Regions from separate parts of the Homo sapiens genome. Here regions 1 and 2 are each linked to region 3. Evidence: promoter capture Hi-C in human tissues and cell types (Jung and others, 2019). All regions are on one chromosome and are shown on one strand. The core of a region is centred on a gene start or on the middle of the fragment in contact, and the rest is flanking DNA. Distances in the headings are between cores, read along the strand shown. Region 1 holds the start of MCOLN1 (mucolipin TRP cation channel 1). Region 2 holds the start of NDUFA7 (NADH:ubiquinone oxidoreductase subunit A7). Region 3 holds the start of MAP2K7 (mitogen-activated protein kinase kinase 7).

Region 1 (2,700 bases), core at 60-2,559, 380 kb before region 3:
CTGGATTGCTGGGGTCTCAGCAGGGAACAAGATAAATATGGCCTCGACCTGCATGGAGCTCATAGATACTAAATTCAGAATACTTAAAAAATAATTACGGGGTATAGTACATTCTAGGAGAAGCATAACAAGACTTCTGATATAAATGGCAGGCAGCTTTCTCAATGAAGGATTTTGTAATCCCAATAATCACTAATTTAATAATCAGTACTGTTTGCCCAGCCTTATGCGATAGTTTTTGCATTCTCTCATTTAATCCTCTCAACAGCCCCAGTAGGTAGATGACTTTGAATATCCCCATTTTGCAAATGAGAAAATTGAGGCACATTTTTTTTTTTTTTTTTAGACAGTCTTGCTCTGTTGCCCAGGCTGGAGTGCAGTGGTGTGATCATAGCTCACTGCAGCCTCGACCTCCTGGGCTCAAGCGATCCTCCCACCTTAGCCTCCCGAGTAGCTGGGATTGCCGGTGCATGCCACCGCCCACTGCGCTCAGCTTGGAGTTGAAGGGACTCTGGAAGATGTAGAAGTGGCATTGTCAGTGCCTAGATTTAAATCCCAATTGCCCTCCAGGGTCCAAATTCTTAACCATTACGCTCCAGGGCAAAAGTATGCAAAGGCTCTGGGGCTATAGAAAGATGAGCTTTGGATGGAGGTAGGAGCCAGATCAGAGGGCCCTGATAGACGAGAGTGGGGACTCTGCCTGTCATTACAGAGCAATGGGAAGCCGAGGGCAGGTTCTCGCAGGAAGGATAGGAATTATTCTTTGAAGATGCTTGTGGCTGCTGGGTAGAGAGTGGAGTGGAGGGAGGCTGAGATCGGGGAGGAGGTTGCTGCAAAGATCCAGGCCAGGAATGTTGGAAGACTCTGGGCTGGGGGCCATGGGGTGGGGATAAGTGGTTCTATTTGATACATAATTAGGAAATCGTGTTTGCTGAAGATGCGCAGGAGAAGGGTAAAAGGAGTTTCTGGGAGAAAGAGGAAGACAGCGTTGAGATAGTAGGCAGGGTCATCACCAGGCACCAAGGAGGATAAGGGGTCAAGCTCTGGACATGGAAGTCACAAGCCTGGCACCGGATTCGGGGCATGGCCGGGAGCCAGGGCAGAGCTCGTCGTTGCCAAACTCAGAGTCAGCCCATCCCCCGCCACCCAGAGCGCGTCGGCGCTAGGACCTAGCGACTGCCTTCGACCCAGAGGGCGCCGGCAGAGGCACGCATGCGCGCTGTTCCGGCAGGGGTTGTCGTGGCGCAGGGGGCGGGACCAGAGGCGGTCACGTGAGGGGCTCTGGGCTACCGGGTCACGTGACCGAGGCACAGATCAGCTGATGCCGGAGGGTTTGAAGCCGCGCCGCGAGGGAGCGAGGTCGCAGTGACAGCGGCGGGCGATCGGACCCAGGCTGCCCCGCCGTACCCGCCTGCGTCCCGCGCTCCCGCCCCAGCATGACAGCCCCGGCGGGTCCGCGCGGCTCAGGTGAGGGCGCGGGCGGCACCGTGGGGCCCCGAACTCAGGCGGGCGGGCTGTGTCTCCCACCTGGGGCGGCGGAGCTCCTAGTCTCTTTTTTTCTAAGCTCCAGCGCTGACTTTTCACGGTGGAGAAAAGGGCAGACGGCTCCTAGAACTTGGGCGGCGGGTGGGCACCAGCCTCTCCAATTCTTCCTCCTGAACCCAGGCTCTGCTGGGTTCCCAAACTCAGGCAGGGATCGCGCCGGGCCGCCAGCTTCTCCCTCTGGGGCGGCGAGGTTCCTGGGATTCCCACTGGGAGCCTAGGTTCCGATTGCTCAACTTCGTCTGGAACTCAGACAGCGGGCACCAGCTTCTCCAACCCGCACGTGAGACTCCCAGGCTTCCCCTCCTGATTCCAGGGGACAAATGCTCAGCTTCCCTAAGCTCAAGCCTGGAGAGCTGGAGGGATTGCCCCCAGGCGATTAACTCAGTTTTAGCTTTCCAAACCGCTGGAAGCGCAGCCTTCTTAAATTCGGGCTTCTAGCCAATTCTGATGCCACCCCTCCTCGGGGAGGCTGGAGGAAGACCCCTTGTGTTAGCTTCCCCTTCTGGAGCTAGCTGGGGACCCCTACCTGATAGATGTCCCGGTGTCCCAGCTAGTAGGGTCTGGGGTGGGTTAGCTGTAATCTCAGCTCTGTAAGCGGGCCCTGCCCTCTGGCTTTGTCGTAAACAGCCACAGCAGCATCTCATTGCAAAGGGAGGGGCCGGGAACTTGTCCCTCTCTGCAAGGGAGGTTCTGACAGTGCACACATTTATCCTGACTGCTTTGCTAGGCAGGAGGCCAGGCCCTAGAAAGCAGCACGGGGCCAGGCCCTAGAAAGCACATCCCCATGGGGGTGTGACAGGGACAGTTTTGGGCTACTGTGACTGGTTTTGACTCCAGCAGTTGCTGAAAGCTTAGATCTAACCATTAGGCTGGAAAAAAATAAACAGTGATTAGAACAGCTTGTGTTTGCTGAAGAGGTCTTTATCTGCTGTGTCTCACTGAATTCTCAGAGCAGCTTCAGGATCTCAACCTCAAGGCTCAGGGAGAGGGTGGACTTTTTTTTTTTTTAATAAACTTTTTTTTGTTGCCCAGGCTGTAGTGCAGTGGCATAATCCTAGCTCATTGTAACATCGAACTCCTGGGCTCAAGTGATCCTCCCAACTCAGCCTCCCGGGTAGATGGGGTCCCAGCTACTAACTACGGGCATGAGCCGTC
Region 2 (2,834 bases), core at 288-2,787, 420 kb after region 3:
GAATGTTTTTTCTTTTTTATTTTTTTGAGACAGAGTGTTGTTCTGTCACCCAGGCTGGAGTGCAGTGGTGCGATCTCAGCTCACTGCAATATCCACCTCCTGTGTTCAAGCGATTCTCCTGCCTCAACCTCCCGAGTAGCTGGGACTACCCGCGCGCGCCACCACGCCCGGCTAATTTTTGTATTTCTAGTAGAGAGGGGGTTTTACTGTGTTTCACTGTGTTGGCCAGGCTGGTCTCAAACTCCTGACCTCGTGATCCGCCTGCCTCAGCCTCCCCAAGTGCTGGGATCACAAGCGTGAGCCACCGCGCCCGGTCAGAATGTTTTTTCAATAATTATTCTTTGAATGGGTCCTTCCCATCATTCAGGGGACTCAACTGTCAATTTCCAAAGAAAGATCTTTCCCAATCATCTGACTTTACGTAGCCACCCTCCAGCTTCCACTTATTTTGTTTTGTCTTCAAAGCATTCCAGAACAATACTACCTGCTGTGTTTGTTTCCCTACTATGCTTCTCCCTAGAATGTGGCGTCCATGAAAGAATGTGGATAAGAACTTTCCTGGTTCACAAAGTTAAACCCAAGGCTGAGGTCATACATGACGGGGGCTTGTAAATATCAACTAATATTTTAATATAAATGAGTCTGAAATCAGGACACTTCTGGGTTCAAGTCCCCGCTGCCACTTTTTAGCTTCTGAGTGACTTGAGGCAAATGATTTCGCCTCTCTGGACCTCTTTTTTCATCTGTAGCTTGGGGATAACACTGACTAACATGGCCACGCTGAGCACTGCAAATCTAGCCTGATTGCCAGTCAGAATGCACGCCCGGCCTCGCTGTTTCAGGAGGGCTGTCCTCCGGAGTTCAGCAAGGTTAAAGGCAAACCTCTGCCTCCACAGCCTGGCAGGGGACTGGTGGCAGGATGTCAGCCCTCCGTTTCAGGGGTCTAAAGGAACACAGATTTCGTTTTTGGTGGAGAAAGGACAGAGCCAGAGGCTGGGCAGCGAGCGGGGCCTGCTCACCGCTTGGAGATCTCCTGGTAGCGTAGCTGCAGCTTCCCCTGCAGGTCATGCTGTGGGAAGAGGAGAGGAGAGGTCGGCCTGCAAGGCACCCCAGGAGAGAGGAAAGGAGAGGGCAAGGGACCAGGGATGGTCCGGGGATGCGCATTTTAAGGGAAGGCAGGGGATGAACACTCGGGGAAACGGATGTGGGTCCTGCAGGTGAAGAGCAAAGCCAGAGTCCGGGCCCACAGATCCAAGGCTAAGAAGGTCGGGGACTGGGGAAATCCCAGGCCTGAGTGGTTCCCAGGCCAGGAGAGGGTCCCGGGCTGAAGGGGTGACTAGCTGGGGGTTCCCAGGGAGATTCGGGGAGAGCGAAGGGTCCCGGCTTAGGAGGGAGGTGAGGAGCAGGAGCGGGTCCCGGACACACGGAGCCCGAAGCCCCCCATGGTGCAGCCCTGTCCGCCCCGCGCACCCCGGACGCCCAGTTCCGCAGCCGCTGGATGAGACGGGTGGCGGACGCCATCTTCCGTCCGCGATACTGAAGGGCGCAGCCGGTGACGTCTCCACCGCTGGGGCTGCTGGGAAAGACGCGGCGTGGTATCGCGAGACGGGAGTGGGCGGTGCTAGAACGTCCTATAAAGGCTCTCCCCGAAGCACGTGACTCCTCTCCGCCAGACCGCCGCCGCGCCGCCATCATGGACACCAGCCGTGTGCAGCCTATCAAGCTGGCCAGGGTGAGGTGGGGGCCCGAATTTGGGGGCAGGGGGAGGGATTAGAGGAGCCAAACGGGCCGGGTCTGAACCCAGCTTCTTTCCTCCAGGTCACCAAGGTCCTGGGCAGGACCGGTTCTCAGGGACAGTGCACGCAGGTAATCGGGTGGGGGCATTTGGCCGACTGCCGGCGACCTAAACCCTGATGTGACCTCTACCCTGCCCTAACCCCTGCCAGCCGGAATCCGGGAGCCGATTCTCATTTCATCACGGGGTTCTGATGGTTCCCTTTAACGATCTGTATTCTGGCCCCGACACGTTCTCTGAATTCATATCTGCTTCCCACTCCGCGGTGCCTTTCCGCGGCCCGCCCTTACTTCTTCCTCCACTCCGGTGGGGACCCGTAGGTGCGCGTGGAATTCATGGACGACACGAGCCGATCCATCATCCGCAATGTAAAAGGCCCCGTGCGCGAGGGCGACGTGCTCACCCTTTTGGAGTCAGAGCGAGAAGCCCGGAGGTTGCGCTGAGCTTGGCTGCTCGCTGGTGGGTGCAAAGAGGACACCCCTTTGATAGACCTTTGGTTGGTGGTAGGGAGGCTTCGTTAAGCCCAGGGTGAGAGGGTTTGGGAGGCAGAGTCTACATACAGAGACTGACAAGAGGGAGGCGGGAGTTTGCCAATTGCTGCGGGGCCTGTCAACATCTCATGTTTGGGTCTGTTTACAGGGTCTTGGATGTCGGGTTCGACCACTTGGCCGATGGGAATGGTCTGTCACAGTCTGCTCCTTTTTTTTGTCCGCCACACGTAACTGAGATGCTCCTTTAAATAAAGCGTTTGTGTTTCAAGTTAACTCAGGTTCTTGTCTGGGTTATACGACTAGGGTTTCTCCAGGTTTCTTGAGTGGCTCCCAGGCGGTCACCGATCCTCCGCACTCTGGAAATCCTGGCCGTGCGGTCTTGCCAAACGAAGCTTTTCCTTTTTGAGGCGGGGGGTCGTGTTTGTCGATTGCACCCTCTACCCCAAACAAAACACAAGCGTAGTAGGAATGTTTTATTAGCAAAGAAGTTTCAGAGAGTGGGTGGATCAGGGCTCTATCACTTGGTCCCCACCTCACCTTGGTGGGGC
Region 3 (2,700 bases), core at 23-2,522:
CATCCGCCTCGGCCTCCCAAAGTGCTGGGATTACAGGCGTGAACCACCATGCCCGTAACCTTTTATTTCATGTGACCAAGTAACACCCGTGTGCCAGAATCAAGGATGAGTCTCATGTTCTCAGAGCAGAGGCACAGAAGGCTGCCTGGAAGACGGAAAGGTAAAGACCTCAGCTATAACTCTACACTTGTGTGTGCTCCACCCACAAATCGTCACCAGAGGAGTTCCGACAAGCCGGTAACTCTCATCCCAAAGTGTTCCCTCGTTGGACCAGAAGCTGGAAGGGCACTTGGCAGAGTCTGCCTGGCCCTGGCCACCTCCCGGGTGTCCGCAAAATCAGAACTTCCTTCTCGCATCTAAGAGCAGAGGGAAGCCGCTCTTGGGGGGATCCCTGGGTTCCAGATGGGACATTTCCCCAGCACCCGTCGGACCACTTAAAGGAGTGGTTTAGGCTGCCGGGGGCCCAAGCACTGGCACCTAACCCCAGCGCCCCTCCTCAGATAGGAATTCTCCACGTCCAGGCGCTGGGCTCACGTTCCGGGTGCGAGAGAGATAAGGGGGGTGTCTTGAGGTTCTATGTGGGTCTGGCCAACAACTCTGGCCTTGACCTTGGCCCCGTCGCCGAGGGCAGGGGTCACACCGCTGGGTTCCCATGGCCGTCCCCTCCCCCCTGGCTTCGGCCAACTCTGAGCCTGCTGGGGCTGGCAAGAAGGGAAAGGGCTCTCGACGGAGCCTAATTACGGTGAGGAGGCGGCACCCCGCTGCCAGCAGGAGGCTAGGAGGTAATTAAGCACAAGAGGAATCCTAATAAAGCACCATCAGTGAGGAAGGCATTCCGAAGGGACGCCCAAGCCGACCGTGAAAAGCGAGGAGGCTGAGGCTGCACCGCCGTGGAGACCAGGGATCGACTGCCGCTTTGGGAACGAGGTTCCAGGAATGCGCATGCGCAAAAGCCACGCGGGCGAACACGGCTTCGCCTCGCTAAGCATGCGCGCCGTTTTCCCCGCCCACCGTCCTCAGAAGAATGGTGTTTCCTCGCAGCGCCTCTCTCAGGAGCGATCGGGAATTGGCGCATGCGCACTACGGTGGTGGTGGCGACGAAGGCGGGGGTTGCACGTTGCCTGCCTCGAGCTCTAGGTGGCGTCATCCTTCGGGCTGAGCCGAAGCACGCACGCGCGGAGGTTCGCACGCGGAGAAGGGCGGGTGCGCGCCGCGGGCATGCGCGGTGCGGGGCGAGACGGCGGCTCGACGGGGTCATCCGGGCGCAGGCGCAGTGCGGTGTTTGTCTGCCGGACTGACGGGCGGCCGGGCGGTGCGCGGCGGCGGTGGCGGCGGGGAAGATGGCGGCGTCCTCCCTGGAACAGAAGCTGTCCCGCCTGGAAGCAAAGCTGAAGCAGGAGAACCGGGAGGCCCGGCGGAGGATCGACCTCAACCTGGATATCAGCCCCCAGCGGCCCAGGCCCAGTAAGCACGGCGGCGTGGGGGAGGGGGCGGGCGGGCGGGGCGGGGCGCGCGCCGCGGGAGGCCCCGCCCCCACCACAAGGCCCCGCCCCCGCTTCCGGGGCGCTCGCTCTCCTCTCCGCCCCCCCCGCTGCGGGCTCGCGGGGCGAGGGTCACGGTGACCCGGGGGGCGTGGAGCCGGCGAGCTCCGGGGGGTTCGCACCCTCAGGGCTTGGGAGCCCAGTTCCCGGACCCAGGCGAGGCCCCCAGCTGATGACCCGCCCCCATCGCCGTGATCCTCTGGGTCGGGCTTCCCCGACTCCACGCGACAGTGACCACATCCAGGTCGCCCCGAAAACACAGACACGTCCCTGTTGACCTGATGCTACCACTCTCGTCATCTCAGGGACTGTCTGGCGCCCCCCTCCCCCGGCCTGGGGGCTTGTCAGCCCCGTGCAGCGACGATCTACGCACACGCGCACGCCTGGCTCGGGGACACCTGAGGTTACTTGACCACATAGAGCCCCTCCCCATCTCTTCTGACCCGAGGATTCTCCCTCTCGCTCTCCCTGTGACCGTGTCTGAGGTGGGGGGACGGGAGGGGGTCCCTTCTCCCCCTCTTGGCGACAGTGACCATGGCATTGGGCTCAGCAGACCCCCTCCCACATACACCAGGCCCCGCAAATCCCTGTGACCAGTTTCACTGCCACCATCTTGGTGAGCGTGTGGTGTCTGACCTCCAGAAATGCACATCGACCCCCAGCCAGCCCGGTGACTTTGTCACCTGTGTTCAAGTGATGGCTCCCCTTCCCTTCACACCCACACCCACCTGACCTGGGGACACCTGGGGCCAGTGTGACTCTAGGCCTGCTCCCGCCGCGCCCCAGCATACATCCACCTGCTTTCTGATCAGTCCCACCACCTCGGTACCTACCTCCCTGACACCTTGTCATCCTAGATCAGTACCTCTCGCTTCACACACACCTGGCCTGGGAACACTGACCATATCTAGTCTCCCGGCTTTTTCCCCAAGATCCTGGTCTCTAAATCCTCTGGGCTGGAGGAAATTAGATTTTCAAACCCTGTGAACACCACCCCTGACCCATGATCCTTTTTGTGTCTTTCTTGACCCAGTAAAATTCTCTCTTGTCTCCTCTGATGTGACCTTCGTAGTTTATTTAGTTCTCTCTATGGAGTCATTATGGCAGGCGAGAAAGGTACCCCCGTATCTGGGCACCCCACCCATTCCCTGGTCACCCA

The links. The method cuts DNA at HindIII sites, captures the fragments that hold promoters and counts their contacts. A contact is called where the count stands out against the background at its distance.
Region 1: the fragment with the promoter of MCOLN1 here is called in contact with the fragment with the promoter of MAP2K7 in region 3 in 1 of the 25 tissues and cell types used here (lymphoblastoid cells).
Region 2: the fragment with the promoter of NDUFA7 here is called in contact with the fragment with the promoter of MAP2K7 in region 3 in 1 of the 25 tissues and cell types used here (spleen).

What each region holds. Positions count from the first base shown.
Region 1 is chr19:7,521,315-7,524,014 of GRCh38, forward strand. It overlaps MCOLN1 (mucolipin TRP cation channel 1), which reads left to right and starts at 1,310. Exons shown (of 14, transcript NM_020533.3): 1 at 1,310-1,467. The coding sequence starts at 1,437. It overlaps LOC105372261 (a long non-coding RNA gene), which reads right to left. Exons shown (of 3, transcript XR_936294.3): 2 at 1,528-1,848. RefSeq lists a silencer at 1,344-1,473. The HindIII fragment of the contact is 17,633 bases long and covers 1-2,700 here.
Region 2 is chr19:8,319,838-8,322,671 of GRCh38, forward strand. It overlaps NDUFA7 (NADH:ubiquinone oxidoreductase subunit A7), which reads right to left and starts at 1,538. Exons shown (of 4, transcript NM_005001.5): 1 at 1,471-1,538; 2 at 1,020-1,069. The coding sequence starts at 1,521. RPS28 (ribosomal protein S28) reads left to right here and starts at 1,659. Exons shown (of 4, transcript NM_001031.5): 1 at 1,659-1,732; 2 at 1,819-1,866; 3 at 2,116-2,254; 4 at 2,435-2,834. The coding sequence starts at 1,694. The coding sequence ends at 2,238. It overlaps KANK3 (KN motif and ankyrin repeat domains 3), which reads right to left. Exons shown (of 11, transcript NM_198471.3): 11 at 2,747-2,834. RefSeq lists enhancers at 1-625, 626-1,593, 1,448-1,687, 1,594-2,561, 2,562-2,834. The HindIII fragment of the contact is 5,252 bases long and covers 1-2,834 here.
Region 3 is chr19:7,902,605-7,905,304 of GRCh38, forward strand. It overlaps MAP2K7 (mitogen-activated protein kinase kinase 7), which reads left to right and starts at 1,273. Exons shown (of 11, transcript NM_145185.4): 1 at 1,273-1,464. The coding sequence starts at 1,341. It overlaps LOC124904630 (a long non-coding RNA gene), which reads right to left and starts at 910. Exons shown (of 2, transcript XR_007067121.1): 1 at 817-910; 2 at 1-145. RefSeq lists enhancers at 550-1,127, 1,776-2,315 and a silencer at 1,485-1,834. The HindIII fragment of the contact is 24,212 bases long and covers 1-2,700 here.